Regions from separate parts of the Homo sapiens genome. Here regions 2 and 3 are each linked to region 1. Evidence: promoter capture Hi-C in 16 types of primary human blood cells and fetal thymus (Javierre and others, 2016). All regions are on one chromosome and are shown on one strand. The core of a region is centred on a gene start or on the middle of the fragment in contact, and the rest is flanking DNA. Distances in the headings are between cores, read along the strand shown. Region 1 holds the start of EPC1 (enhancer of polycomb 1). Region 2 holds the start of ITGB1-DT (ITGB1 divergent transcript). Region 3 holds the start of ITGB1 (integrin subunit beta 1).

Evidence for each region. The method cuts DNA at HindIII sites, captures the fragments that hold promoters and counts their contacts. A CHiCAGO score of 5 or more calls a contact.
Region 2: a fragment that was not itself captured here is called in contact with the fragment with the promoter of EPC1 in region 1 in 1 of 17 cell types (M0 macrophages); the score reaches 5.1 in M0 macrophages.
Region 3: a fragment that was not itself captured here is called in contact with the fragment with the promoter of EPC1 in region 1 in 2 of 17 cell types (activated CD4 T cells and naive CD4 T cells); the score reaches 5.4 in activated CD4 T cells.

What each region holds. Positions count from the first base shown.
Region 1 is chr10:32,344,222-32,349,002 of GRCh38, reverse strand. EPC1 (enhancer of polycomb 1) reads left to right here and starts at 1,845. Exons shown (of 14, transcript NM_001272004.3): 1 at 1,845-2,240. The coding sequence starts at 2,088. It overlaps EPC1-AS1 (EPC1 antisense RNA 1), which reads right to left and starts at 1,639. Exons shown (of 2, transcript NR_104163.1): 1 at 1,528-1,639. RefSeq lists silencers at 1,255-1,384, 1,395-1,864, 2,535-2,814 and enhancers at 2,135-2,194, 2,215-2,314. The HindIII fragment of the contact is 3,163 bases long and covers 1-2,764 here.
Region 2 is chr10:32,981,968-32,986,748 of GRCh38, reverse strand. ITGB1-DT (ITGB1 divergent transcript) reads right to left here and starts at 4,198. Exons shown (of 3, transcript NR_184020.1): 1 at 4,064-4,198; 2 at 992-1,126. The HindIII fragment of the contact is 2,296 bases long and covers 845-3,140 here.
Region 3 is chr10:32,955,162-32,959,942 of GRCh38, reverse strand. ITGB1 (integrin subunit beta 1) reads left to right here and starts at 1,713. Exons shown (of 16, transcript NM_002211.4): 1 at 1,713-1,798. RefSeq lists an enhancer at 1,141-1,190 and silencers at 1,361-1,940, 2,011-2,460, 2,854-3,015. The HindIII fragment of the contact is 2,322 bases long and covers 417-2,738 here.

The sequences.
Region 1 (4,781 bases), core at 596-3,095:
ACCGTTGTCTTAAGATACCTTTCTTCCCTTCATTTTTACTTTTTTTGCAAAGTTAACCCACACTTATCCTACATAATTTTACTCAGATATCATCTCTTCCAAAAAGTCTTCCCTTGCTACTTCATTAGAACTACTCTCCTGGGTTGGGCGCCACTCTTGCCCCTTCCCACAGTGGCCTGGGCTTCCACCATAACACTTAGCTCGCCGTGTGGCAGTTGCCATTCGCGGGTCCTTCTCCCCACTGTGTAAGCTCCTCCAGGAGCCCTGTGGGTGCCAAGCTGACTTGGAAGGCTATGAGGGCTCAATACACACCCTCAATACTCATTGAATGAATAAAGGCACGGTCTCTGTGTAGGAAATGCAGGTGAACGTCCTTATGCCTCACTTAAGTGAGCTGCCAATATCGGAGTTTAAGTATAATTTTGGAGAACTGCAATCCGTCCTGTTTTCTCCCTACCCCGCGGGAGCTGGCTAAACCAGCCTGGAGGCTAGCAGTTTGCCTGTGTGCCCTAAGCTAGTGACAGCTCATATCAAGCCCAGTATTTAAGGAGCGTGATTACTTTTACTACGTAGTTCCCAGGGAGAAAAGCAACTCAAAACATTTTTGTATCTTTTTGTATCTTGTTGCACAAGATACAAAATTGTGCACTAAGATACAAATTGAAACTCGAATTGAAATTTGGCTGCCAATTTATTAAACCCACCCCAACAATCTTCCCTATTAACAACAACAACAACGAAGAGATCTCAGGATACCCATTTTCATGTGTAATATAAACCGATGCCACCCATCTATCATATCCATCTAAATCTAATAATTCAGCTTTTTGTTTGGCGGGAGTACGACAGGTCTTTATATGATTCAATGTTACAAAGTTTTTCAGAGGACAAATGATGAAAGTGTGAACCCACGGCTATGATGAAGCCGCAGTCTCTTTGAGTACAGAATCATGAGCTAGATATAAAGAACTGGCTTTAAATTCTGAAGTAGATCTTGCTTTTAAATGTTATAGTGGTGGGTAATAATTTCCTTTGCTTCAGTTACTATTTAAAAAGTAAATATGTGTAGATGAAAATGCAGGATTTAAAAAAATCTACTTTGTAGAATAGGATACCTATCATTTATATTAAGCCCAATGCGTGGGAAACGGATCAATGACTTGATGCGGTGCCTATAAAACATTATAATCCAAAGTTGCATTAGGACATAAAAATAACTGCTGATAAAAGTTTACTCAAAGTAGCATCTGCCCCTAATTCAGTTTGTATTTTTATCGTAAAGACCTAAGGCGCCGCGGGAACTAGGCTGTGCGTTCGCCCCCCGCGGCAGACGGCGGCGCGCGGCGCCTCTGGAGCGCCCCTCCGAAGCCCCGTGGGGGCGGCCGTGGCCCCGGGGCAGCCGCTGGCGAGCACCCCAGAGGTCCGAGCCCTCCGAGCCCCAGGTGCCCGGGGCCCGAGCCCCGCCTGCCACTCTCCCCAGCTGCCTTTCCAAACGGCGGCGTGCTGGTGGAGAGAGTTTTCCCGCACCTTGTTCGCCCGTCAGAAAGCGGCGCCGGGAGGGAGCGAGCGTGAGAAAGTGAGCGTGTGCGCTGCAGGAGAGCACGACCCAAGAGCCGGCGCCCGGTGTCCGAGCGCCCAGTCCGCCCTGTCCGCCCCCGGACCCGCGAAGGGCGGGGGCCCGGAGCAGCGAGGCGCGGGAAGCGAGGCCGGCGGGTGCCGGGGGTTGGCGGGACGCGCGCTTCGTGCCGGCGCCGGCCTCGAGCCCGCGCTCCCTCCCCCCGCCCGCGTGCCCGCGCCGCTGCGCGATGCAGTGTGGGGAATGGCTGGGGTTGGCTGAAGAGCGCACAGTGGAGTTTTAATGTCCGCCATGTTGGCCATGGCGTATTGAAGAGAGCGAGCGAGAGAGGAGCGGAGCGGCACAGCCTCCCACCCTCCCGGCTGGTGTTAGTGCCCGGACGGCGGGCTCTGCGCTCCGCCCCTCAAGTCCCCGGCAGCGGTTGGCGAGTGGGGACCGAACCCCCGGTTCTCCATGATCCCGCTGGCCGGGGCCGTTTCCCCAGAGCGGAGAGGTATCTGCTGCGCCTGAGATGAGTAAACTGTCGTTTCGGGCGCGGGCGCTAGACGCCTCGAAGCCGCTGCCGGTTTTCCGCTGTGAGGATCTGCCCGACCTGCACGAATACGCCTCGATAAACAGGGCCGTGCCGCAGATGCCCACCGGAATGGAGAAGGAAGAGGAGTCGGTACGTGTTAACTCCCCTGTCCGACCCACCGTCAGGCCCGCTCCCTCTGCTGCCTGCGGCGGCGGCGGAGCAGCAAACCCACACAAAATGGCCGCCATCTTCTCTTCGCCGCCGACTCTCAGTCGCCGGCCGGGCCTATACCCCGCCTCCCCCAGCCTCGACCCCCGGCCGCCGCGGCCCAGCGGGGCCCCTTCTAAGGCCACCCGCTGACCCTGGCCACTTGTACCCGGGTCCCGCGGAGTTCGGGGGCCCGAAAGGCACAAAGGGGTCACGTGACGAAGCTGCCGGCAGCCATTTTGTGTCTTAGTTCTTGGGTTGGGCCTTGTGCATCCGGAGAGGGGAACGGGCTGGGTGGCTGTGGGGGTGCGGCGAGTCGGGAGCCGTGGAGGACCCGCCTACAGGCCTCTCCGTGGGCCGCTGGGTGGCGCTCCAGGGCCACTGCGGCCTGCGCGCCGCTGCCCGGGCCGGGAGCGCAGGTTCTGTGCACAGTCGGGGAATTTGATTGCCCCATGGTCTGGGAAGCTTGTTGGGCTCAGTGCAGCCCCCACGTGGAGCCTCAGACGGGCATGTCATGTCGCCTGCTGCTCTATGAGGCTTTTCTCCCCCTCTGCAAGGAAATGTCGAGGGTGCAGCGTGTTTGCCCGGACGACTTACTTTTCTAGAAGATAAGACTTACTTTCAGTGTCCTCTTTCTGGGACGTTTGTATCCATCCCTCTCCAGAGCTAGTTGGTCGGAGGATAATAAACCACTATCCCTGACTTTTTCTGTGATCCTTGCGAATATCTTGCAGATTTGTTTGGAGTACCTCTCTCTTCTGAAGCCTGTAACCTTACCTATTTGTAAAATAAATTTAAGTTCTCCTGCTCTCTGGTATCTCAACATAGGGGGAGAAAAGACCCAATTTAAGTAACTTTTATAGATCTAAATTTCGAAGGAGGATCCTTTCTTATTCAAAACCGAACTAAAACTAAGTGACTTGATTCACAGAAATCTTAATATTGAGATGTCTAAATTGGGTGGGTTTCAGCACGTAAATGTTGACAACTAATAGACATTTTACCATCGCTGTGGCTTTACCTTGTTGTGGAAGTTGGGTTCGGACACCAGGATAATAGAATCTTCCTCTCATTTCCCCCAGATCCTTGACAGTATAACTTGATGACTTCTAATCCTAAGGAATTGCATACCTTGGTTTTCAGGTACAGCCATTTAAACAGGGTGCAGTGTATTGACAGTTCAAGGAAGTCCAGGAGTCGCGTGGATTTGTGTGCTACAATTTTGTTGTGGAAAATTGTACTGTAATACTTCTCTTGGTACTGTAAGAATTTTTAATGTAGAAATTATGCTCTGTAATGTTGTTTTTGGAAATAAAACTGTTTAAACTCTTTGGGTTGTTTAACCTTTTAAAGTGAAATAGCTGTGACAGTGAAATGTTACTTTTGAGAGTAGTGTCTTAAATCTAACTTTACAGATAAGCCAAGTGTATGTAGTAGCTCAGATTGTCTAGTTGGGCACTGACTTTCAGCACATTGTCTCATGAGACACTACCTCTTAATTTATTTTACTTGTATCAACTTTAGAGTAGCATGGCCATTTGTTTATTTTTTAATAAGTGATTTGTTTTTAAAAATTAAAGTACTTGTGACTGCAGAATCTTGTCTTTTGGTTTTATTTTTATTTCTAAGTTTTACAGATAATACTTTCAAGTATTGGGGTGTTGGTTTTACCCTGCCCTGGAAATTAATTTGTAATTCTTGTTCAGCAGCCAAGGAAGGGGAAAGCCTTGATTAAAGCAAGACAGCACAACAGTACACTTTAGACTTTAGTTAAGTCTTGCTTCTGTGAATACTTTGGACAGTCCCAAGAGTTACAACCTGAAGTCAGAGCTGAGCTCAATGAAGTATCAGTGCTTGTTAAATTTTACGGGTAATTTTTATTCGCTGAAATAATTTAGATTTTTCTTCTTTTCTTTTCTGAGATGGAGTCTCACTCTGTTGCCCAGGCTGGAGTGCAGTGGCAGCATCTCGGCTCACTACAACCCTCCGCCTCCCGAGTTCAAGTGATTCTCCTTCCTCAGCCTCCCCAGTAGCTGGGATTATAGGCGCTTGCCACCGCGCCCGGCCGATTTTTATACTTTTAACAGAGACGGGGTTTTGCCATGTTGGCCAGACTGGTTTTGAACTCCTGACCTCAGGTGATCCGCCCGCCTCGACCTCCCAAAGTGCTGGGATTACAGGCATGAGCCACCGCGCCCGGCCAATTTTGACATTTTATACTGCAGTGGCTATCAATAGTTTGTAACATGTGGAGTCCCTAATTTTGAAACACAGGGATTTTTTTTTTTCTTCAGATTGCCTTTTCCAAATATCTGTTTAGAATTTTTCACTTCACATCCAACCAAAGCTATGTATGAGGAGAGAAGCATAGACCTCAAGAATAGACACTGAACCTAATGGAAGAATGTAAAAAGTACCTGGTAAACAAGCTGCTTTACAGTCCTGTGGTTCATGCTGTTAGTGGTAGGGTGTGTAAATCATAAT
Region 2 (4,781 bases), core at 743-3,242, 640 kb before region 1:
TTTTTTTGTAGAGATGGGGTATTGCCATGTTGTGCAGGCTGGTCGTGAACTCCTGGGCTCAAGCGATCCAGCAGCCTCAGCCTCCCAAAATGCTGGGATTACAGGTGTGAGTCACCGCCCCCCGCCAAATTTACCTTTTAAATGCAAGGTTTAAAAACATTAAATTTATTTTTCTATTGCTATAGTTTTACTAATTTTAATTTTTTAACCTACATGACTTGATAAGATTATTCCTCTCTGGAACCAACGGAAACACAAAACAGGTAACAATAATTCCTATTGTGGACTGATTCTTTGGACAATCATCCAAATAACTAAAACACAGTATACCCATAGAAAATTGTGAAGTTCTCTTGCTCTGGCATGGGTTTAAAACCAACAAAAAAATGATGATTTTAAACTCGGGGGGAAAAAACAGTGATCTAGGGCAAACCAAGACCTGCGAACAAAATCTGGCTGACTTCCCGTTTTTGAAAATAAAGTTTTATTGGAACACAGCCATGTTTATTTGCATACATATCATCCACAGCTGCTTTTGCAAGACAAAGGCAGTTGAGCAGTTGCAACAGAGATCACATGGTTTGCAAAGTCAAAGATATTTACAATTTGGTCCTTTGTAGAAAAAAATTGCCAATTCTTAATCTAGGGACTAAATAGAGGAAAAAGGAAATAGAAGCCCCTCTTTCTTGCAGTAATGTTAAAAATCACAATTTCTAAAATATAAATATTTTGCACCAGGTTGGAAAACAGGCATTCAGCCTAATACTCATTAAAGCCTTACACTTAAAGGTCACTCTGTGGTCAGTATTCTTTGCTGCTGGATGACAGGAAGTGTGAGTAAGCTTTCTTTCTCTGCGAATGAACAACTTGCTGTGTCCAGATTTGTTTTGTAAGGACAAACAATATGATGCAAAAAGCAATGACATACAAATAACAAAATGATGTAAACCCTTTCCACAAATTGTTGGATGGGTTTTTAGACCAACCTGACCTTCATTCCACTTTTACTTTGAGAAGCTGCCTCTTTGGGGCTTCAGGTTTTGCTGCAGAGGTCACAGGAGGTGGGCAGTGGTATGGTGGAGGCATGTTCCGCACTCCCCTCTTTCCAGCCTTGGGAAGCTGTCTCCTAAGGTGGAAAAAGATGCTTCAATACCTCTTGTACAGTCTACACCTTCCTTCACCCGAGGCACAGTCAAGCCTTTTGCTGGTTTCACTCCATTCCTTTCTAGCTACCTAAGGCAATAAATTTCCATTTTTGCTTAAGTACTTCGAGTTGGGTTCCTGTCACTTACAATCACAACAGCTTTTTGTCAGAATCCTTTCTTTGGCTCTGATGTTCTGATTTTCACTTCCAGTAAGCTCATCTGTGAGAGGTGTTGCACACGACATTTAATGCCAGCTGTACATTAAAATCACAGGTCCAATATTTATTACTTCTGTGCACGTTTGAGCTTCACTTCTTACCTCTACAAAATGAAGATAATACTACCTACTTTCACAATTGTGATGATGAAAGGAGATGACGTATTTGTAAAGCATCATGCATGGAAGAGACAATAAATATTGTGGCTTTTTTTTTTTTTTTTTTGTGATACAGTCTTGCTCTCATTGCCCAGGCTGGAGTGCAATGGTGCGATCTTGGCTCACTGCAACCTCCGCCTCCCATGTTCAAGCAATTCTCCTGCCTCAGCCTCCCGAGTAGCTGGGATTACAGGCATCCGCCACCACGCCTGGCTAATTTTTTATATTTTAGTGGATACGGGGATTTGCCATGTTGGTCAGGCTGGTCCCGAACTCCTGACCTCGTGATCTGCCCACCTTGGCCTCCCAAAGTGGTGGGATTACAGGCATGAGCCACCAAGCCTGGCCTAAATATTGTAAATATGGCCTTTCAGTCCTCCCCTACCAAACACAAACAATGGATCGAGAGGTCCTAAGCCTCACCTCTTCCTACTCATCCTACGCATACTCAGTCTTCTAGAATTGATTCAATTGCTCCTTGTTTGTGTAGCCTCACCAGCCCAGCCACCACTTTATTAAGCTCTAGATGTCAATTCTCAATGATTCTACAATCCTCTGAGATTAGCACTCATACCTTTTATAGCCCTCAAACCAGTTTTTAAGAACAACTTTCAGGGCTGGGTACCGTGGCTCACGCCTGTAATCCCAGCACTTTGGGAAGCTGAGGAGGACGAATCCCTTGAGGCCAGGAGTTTGAGACCAGCCTGGGCAACATGGCAAAATCCTGTCTCTACTTAAAAATACAAAAATTAGCTGGGTGTGGTGGCACGCACGTAATCCCAGCTACTCAGGAGGCTAAGGCATGAGAATCACTTGAACCAGGGAGGTGGAGGTTGCAGTGAGTCCAGGTTGAGCAACAGCACTCCAGCCTGGGCAACAGAGCAAGACTCTGTCTCAAAACAAACAACTTTCCACTTTGTTCATAATAGCAATATATGTTCATTACAGAAAATTTAGAAAATAGAGAAATACAAAGATGAATATACAGTAAAGGCATAAATCAGCTATATTCCCAATCCTACAACCCAGAAATAATTCATTCTTTCTCTCTCTCCCCTCCCCCCAATTTCTCTCTCTCTCTTATTCTACATGTATCCCATTAGTATACTTCTAGTGGTAATTAAGAGAAAACCTGGACTCAATATGCAATTGGTTTAAACTATAAGAAAAAATTAGCTCACATAATAAGTTTGGAAATAAGATGAGTTATTTAGCTGGACAACTCATCAAAAGTCAGTCTTCAGTTACTCAACAAGGAACTAGAATTGAGACAATTTTAATATTCCTTAAATGCTTTTATGAAGACAAAATGAAAATCAGTCAACAATATCTAAATAGTTAAAAGAAGCGAGTAAATCCAGCAAATCAGCCGTAGTGGAAACTGATTTGCAGTGGGTGGGTGTTTGTTGAACTGGCTCTTGGTCACTGACCTGCAGCCTCCAAGGCTAATAAGTCAACAGATCAGCAGATCAATCAGCTGGGGCCTTTGCATTTTTCCACATTCCCAGGCCTGTCAGCTCAGCCTCAGGCCTGGCTGCATGGTGGCTTTATCACATGTAGAGTCTAACATTTAATGGAAGCATGACTTTGTTTCCTGCTTTTAAAGATAGAGGGAAGCTTTTCCTAACATTTAATGGAAGCATGACTTTGTTTCCTGCTTTTAAAGATAGAGGAAAGCTTTTCCAGAAGCCTCTCCACTCTCATCCACCTCACTGGCCTGGAATGAATTATACTCCCCGGACTCAGAAGATCACTAGCCAGGGGAATTCACATTCACCACTCACTGATGATTCACTCCCCAGGGCAGGGCTGGTGACTGCCTCCCCTGAAGCACACTGCTGTGCAGAGAATAGAAAGCCCACCAAAATTAAGAGGTGTTAGGAAGGAGAAGGGAAGTGGTGTGGGTAGGAAGTCAACAGTTTCTGCCACCATATCTTTTTGACTTAAATTTAAATTTCTCCATGTCCATATATAGTTTTTGAAAACATGATTTTATCTGAAAACATAATTGCATGAAAGCATCAAGTTTATTTAACAAGTTCCCTACTGTTAGGCATTTAAGGCAATTCAATTTTTCACTATCATCAACCACTTAGAATTTTGCCCTAAAACTGCCAAATTAATGTCCCTAAATCCATTGACTTGAGTCATGCTGTTTCTCTTACTGAATAAGTATTAACATTTACGGTTGAAGATGACTTTAACTTTGCTTATATGTCATCAGTGAATCAATACATGAATTTTCAAGAAATGCTAGATTTGTCCAATACATACATATGTCCTTTTCCAATCTTTATTATTAGCTTTTATGTCTCCTCACTTTCCCCCTGTCTAGAAGAGCTCTTGGCAAATTCATTTCAAGAAACCTTTGCTGATAATTTTGCCAGGTCCTATAAGGACCCAATCTCTGCCTTCAGGAGCTTATAATTTAGTAGTTTTTCTTGAATTAGCTCTCAGTAGGCAGATCACTTAAGGCCAGGAGTTCGAGACCAGTCTGACCAACATGGCAAAACCCTGTCTGTAATAAAAATACAAAAATTACCTGGGCGTGGTGGCGCATGCCTTTAATCCCAGCTACTCGGGAGGCTGAGGCACAAGAATCGCTTGCATCTGGGAGGTGGAGGTTGCAGTGAGCCAAGATCGCACCACTGCATTCCAGCCTGGGTGACTACAGAGTGAGATTCTGTCTCAAAAAAATAAACAAAAAAACCCACAAAACTCTCAGTAGATAAAGATACGTAGACGACCAGGACTGTCTGATTCATACATCTGTTTAATATTTACTGAATATCTATTATGTGCCAGGCCCAGATCTAGAATCCAGGGATGGCCAGGCACGGTGACTCATGCTTGTACCCCCAGAATTTTGGGAGGCCAAGGTGAGAGGATCACTTGAACCTAGGAGTTCGAGGCAGCAGTGTGCTGTGATCATGCCACTGCACTCCAGCCTAGGAGACAGAGCAAGACCCTATCTCAAAAAAATAAAACAGACTAGAATCCAGGGGTGCAATGCTTTTAGGGAACTTAGTAATATTCTTAGGTAGTGAGAAAGAAGCCCAAGTGAATCTTTCAAGTTGTTCTTCCTACCTTTTATTCTCAAGCCCTTTGTCACTTAGAAAGGAAACATCTGGTCTTTTCTGCCCTTATCTGAATCCTTTTGAGAGAATAATTCATGTAGATTTTCTCACCTTTGGCCTTGTCACTGTCGTCATAGATAATGTGGCTATTTCAACAAAGGGCTAGGCTTAGCCAGAGAATGT
Region 3 (4,781 bases), core at 328-2,827, 610 kb before region 1:
CCTGGGAGAGCAAAAGGACCCATTTATTCATTTATCAGATATTATCTGAGCCCCTATTATCTGTCCTTGCAACAGTGCTTGACGGTGGTGTTAAAAAGCTCAGTAAATTGTCCTGGAGGAACTAATTTAGTTTAGAGTTGTGCATATGTAAATCTCATAATGTTCTTGTAGCAAAGACTAGCTAGTGCCTCCACCAGTCACGTACAGGGAAAAAAATTCTGGAAATTGTAGTGCAAATCAGGCACGGACCAATTATGCTTTTGAACTATACAGTTTTCTGTGCTGAGACTGGGCCAATTCTGATGAATTCTGAACAATGGTAAAACCGATACCTTTAAAATTCAAGAATGTTGAGTTCTAATGGCAGTTTGACCATTGAGATATTAATATAGGAACATCATTTAGCCTCTTAAGCTTGAACATCCATTAAGTGGGAAAAATAGTGCTCATTTCCTAGAGGTCTTCAGATTGGCTAATCAAGTTTTGATTTTGCTGGTAAGTAATGAGCAAATTTTCTTAGATGTGATCGCTTCATTTTCTCTTATATTGATTGGCAGCAGCCAAATGGGCATTCCAGTCCCTAATCTCCTGCAAGAGAAACACTTCTATTTCATAAATCTGGTAATTTTTGAGCTCTTTTCCCAACAGGGTGCTGCAGCTCACCAAGCGGAACCCACAGCATTTTCTGCTACCAGGATAGCAGCTTGCCAGTAGCATATACTAAATTACTGGGTTTCAGTATGATTTTGGCTGGTACAGACTTCAATCATCGAATCGACATGCGTTCAGCCATTCTCATAATGAATGTTTCCTTCTCTTTCAAACGTTGTTTCCAGCCCCAATCTCCAAATTTTTTTTTTTTAAGAGGTGAAACAGAAACTGTACTCCTTAGGAAGAAACTTTTCCTTCTCATCCCTGTTCCCCATAAAGGTACCTCCAGATAAATCTATCAAAAGCAGGACGCAACTCACCAGGTTTTCTAAAACGTTCCCCAGTCTCACCACCCTTCGTGACACCCATGGGTTTCCCAATTCTTCACCTTTCTCTTAGACACAGGCAAGCACATTATCACTCCAGAAAAGCAGTCCTGGCTTAGCCAGTTCCCTTCCAGAAGGACCACGTGGTTTTTGGCCCCATGGAGCCCTGCAGGGTAGGGGGGCTCACGGTCCCGATTTGCCTCGGGACTCAGGGGGCTTCCGAGATGCAGGATCTCCCGGGCTCGAAACGGGACATCAGTGGACAAACGGGAGCGAGGGTCGAACGCGCGGCTCCGAGGAAGAGGAACTTAAAGAACACGGGCCCAGCAGGCTACACCAGGAACGCGCGGGGCTCTAGGGCGCGTCCGACTCCTCCCGCCCTTCGCAGAGGAGGAAACTGAGGCACGGCGACTGTCTCAACGCAGTCCCGGCCCTGCCCCCCGCGGCCTCCCTCAGGCGCGCTCCCGCGCAGCCGGTTCCTTTGTCCCGGTCGCACTTCCTGCCCCATCCTCCGCCTCCTCCTAGCCCCGGGCCGGGCTGACGCGGCGGGAGAGGAATGCGTTTCCGGAGGGAGAGGGCGGCGGCGGCCTCGGGAGCGGGATCAGACGCGCAGAGGAGGCGGGGCCGCGGCTGGTTTCCTGCCGGGGGGCGGCTCTGGGCCGCCGAGTCCCCTCCTCCCGCCCCTGAGGAGGAGGAGCCGCCGCCACCCGCCGCGCCCGACACCCGGGAGGCCCCGCCAGCCCGCGGGAGAGGCCCAGCGGGAGTCGCGGAACAGCAGGCCCGAGCCCACCGCGCCGGGCCCCGGACGCCGCGCGGAAAAGGTAGGGGCCGGCGGGCCTCGGGTGTGGGAGCGCGGGCCGCGGCCTCCGGTCTCCTGTGCGCGGCAGCACTTAAAGCCGCCGGCCGGGCCGCGCCGGGACCTTTGTGCCGGGCGTGGGGGTGGGGGCGGGGGCGGGGGCGGGGGCGGCCGCCAGCGGTTGGGGGCTGGGGCAGGATTCCAGGCTAGTCCAGGAGGAAGTCCGCACGCCGCCACCCGCCTCGGGTCCCCGGCGCTGGCAGCCCCCGGGCGCAGAGCCAGCCCAGCCGCGTTCCGAACGTGAGGGTCGCCGGCCTGGGCGCTGTCACGTCGGGGCTGCCGGAGCTGCGGGGGACCGGGCCCGAACGGCCCCTGACACCTGCGGTCTCCCGCCGGGCTGGGCAAGCGCAGGTGGGAGCCAGCGAGGCCACCCGGGGCTCGGCGTTTGGGACTCGGCGCTCCCCTGGACGGGTCCGGTGCCTTTGTCTCTCGCTCCCTCGCGAGCTGCTGTCCTTGGAGCAGCGTCGAGCCAGCCGTCGGCGCCCGCGACGGGGACTGGTCTCCTCCGGCTGCCAGGAGGCGGCCCTGGGGCCAGCGCCGCGGGCGGGGGCGGCGGGAGCCGGGTAGAAGTTGGCTTAGTGGAGCCGCTGGGGACCGGGGGTGCGGTGGCGGCAGTGCAGTCCACTTCCCCGTGTTTATAAACGTCAAGAGTCGCCGGTCCCTGCCGGGCACCCCGGGACCAGGACGCATGGCCATGGCCAGCTTGTGCTCAGACCCGGTCCGCGAGCCTGAGAGCCCGGCCTGTGTCTAGTATCATTTTACCGCGTGTCATTTCTTAGGCTTCATAAATTGGATTTATGAGACTCCTACTCTCTAAGTAACTTTTATTTAATCAAATTCGTGCTTTTGAGTCCAAAACTTTGCACTCATTGGTATGATCATTAGTAAGTTGCATTCTCTAAGCTTCCGTTTCCTCATCTGTGAAATAGGAACAGTAATATCTACATTAATAATTCATTTTTATAATAATGACAGTGAGGGCCAAGTTTAGCTCTAGGCATTTTACATGTATTATTTAATTCTGGAACCGCTCTAATGAGATTGGTACTGTTTCGATTCCCATTTTCCGAGTGAAGAAACTGAGGCACAGGGAGCAAAAGTAAGTTGCCTGTGGTCATCAGGAGCTCCTGGAGAAGGCATGGGGTCTAGTTCCAGAGTCCGCGTTTAAACCACAAGTAACCTTCCTAACTATAGTTCTGAAAATCAAATGCAAAATGTAAAAAACTTAGCTTGAGAGTAGATGCTCAATGAGTATTGACTCCTTTTCAGCCCTTCTTTTATAGTAAAAAGATGTTAAAAATATCTCGGAAGATAATTGGTAACATCATTGGTAAGGTTTCTTTGGGCCAACATGCCACATGGTTAACTTAGGTGGGTAGAATTACTAGGTTATTTCGTTTTGTTTTGAGACAGGGTCTCTGTTGCCCAGGCTGGAGTGCAGAAGAGCCATCACAGCTCACTGCAGCCTCAACCTCCGAGGCTTAAGTTACTTTTCCACCTCAGCCTCTTGAGTAGCTGGGACTACAGGCGCCTGCCACCGTGCCCGGCTAATTTTTTTATTTTTTGTAGAGACAGGATTTCACTATGCTGCCCAGGCTGGCCTCAAACTCCTGGGCTCAAGCTGTCCTCTCTCACCGAGCTCCCAAAGTGCTGGGATTACAGGCGTGAGCCCCTGAACCTGGCCCTTAGGTTTTTTTATTTTTTTTTTTTTAATTGTAGTTTTAATGCTACAAAAATAACATGCTAGAGGAATTTAGATTAGACACCTTTCTTAAACCACATACGTCCTTTACGATAGGTTATACAGTAGACCAATTTTAGAAATGATTAAGGAACTTCAGTTGGCAGTTACCTGTTCATTTGTGGACATCAAGGCCCAGAGGGGTTAGGACTTAGAGTCTCACTATAATTCTCATATTTTTAAATAATGTTGACTCATTGATCAATATTATATAAGTGACTGAAGATGGTGAAGTGTTAAATAAAAAACATTGGTATTTTCATTACAGGCATTTGGGGAGAAAGTCATTTTACTTATCCCAAAATTGAGTATGAAGGTGGAAGATGTTATTAGAATGCTAGTTAAAAGGACAAAGAATGTGGTTAATACTTTAATTCTGTAAACAGGAAGCAAATAGATTGTTTAACTCGTCTGTGTTGACTTCAGACCTAAACCTACAATTTTAAGTGTTTGTGATTTTCTTAATGTAAAGTTCTATATTAAAGTTATTTTTTAATACCCTCAACATTCTGCACATGAGAAGCATGGAATCAGCAATTCTGAAAGTCACTGGATTTAGTAATTTTAACAATTAGGCAGCTTTCTGGTCAGTATAATTTAATTTAAATCAGCCCCGAATTACCATCACGAATGAAAATGTAGCTCTACATTGGTGTTCTTCCTAACTCTGGGAGTGACACTGGGGACATCTGGTCATATTATAATAATGAAAAGTGGTCAAACAACTTAACATGGTGCCAGTTTTCCTAAGCGTGCTTGCCACTGATTGTAATGCTTTTATTGTTTGGCTTCTTGATAAGTAAGTTATGGCTTACAGCGGTGAGTAGTATAGTGTTCTGTCTGAAAACATATTCATTAATATTCTGTAGCTGCTCTGGTTTGCCCTTAACTATGCTGCTAGTGTGATAAGCTGAAACATCTTGTAACTGGTAAAAGTTTCAGAGAACTTAACTTTCTGAATATGTAACAAGCTGCATGTATCTGAAAGGGTTCATTTAGACTTCTGTTAGATATTAGCAGATTTTCTCACTCTGCCAGAGAGTTAGGATCTGTTAGGTTGTGGGTGGAATCCTGGAGATTATGCCGGGTAAATATGTAAGTACCTGTATTGTATTAGCAGTGTTTACTCTGACTTGGTTTTAGGTTCTGAGAGTTTGGCTGGTTATTTTTTCAGAGGTGGGAGGTATGGAGTAGAGACGTTAAGATA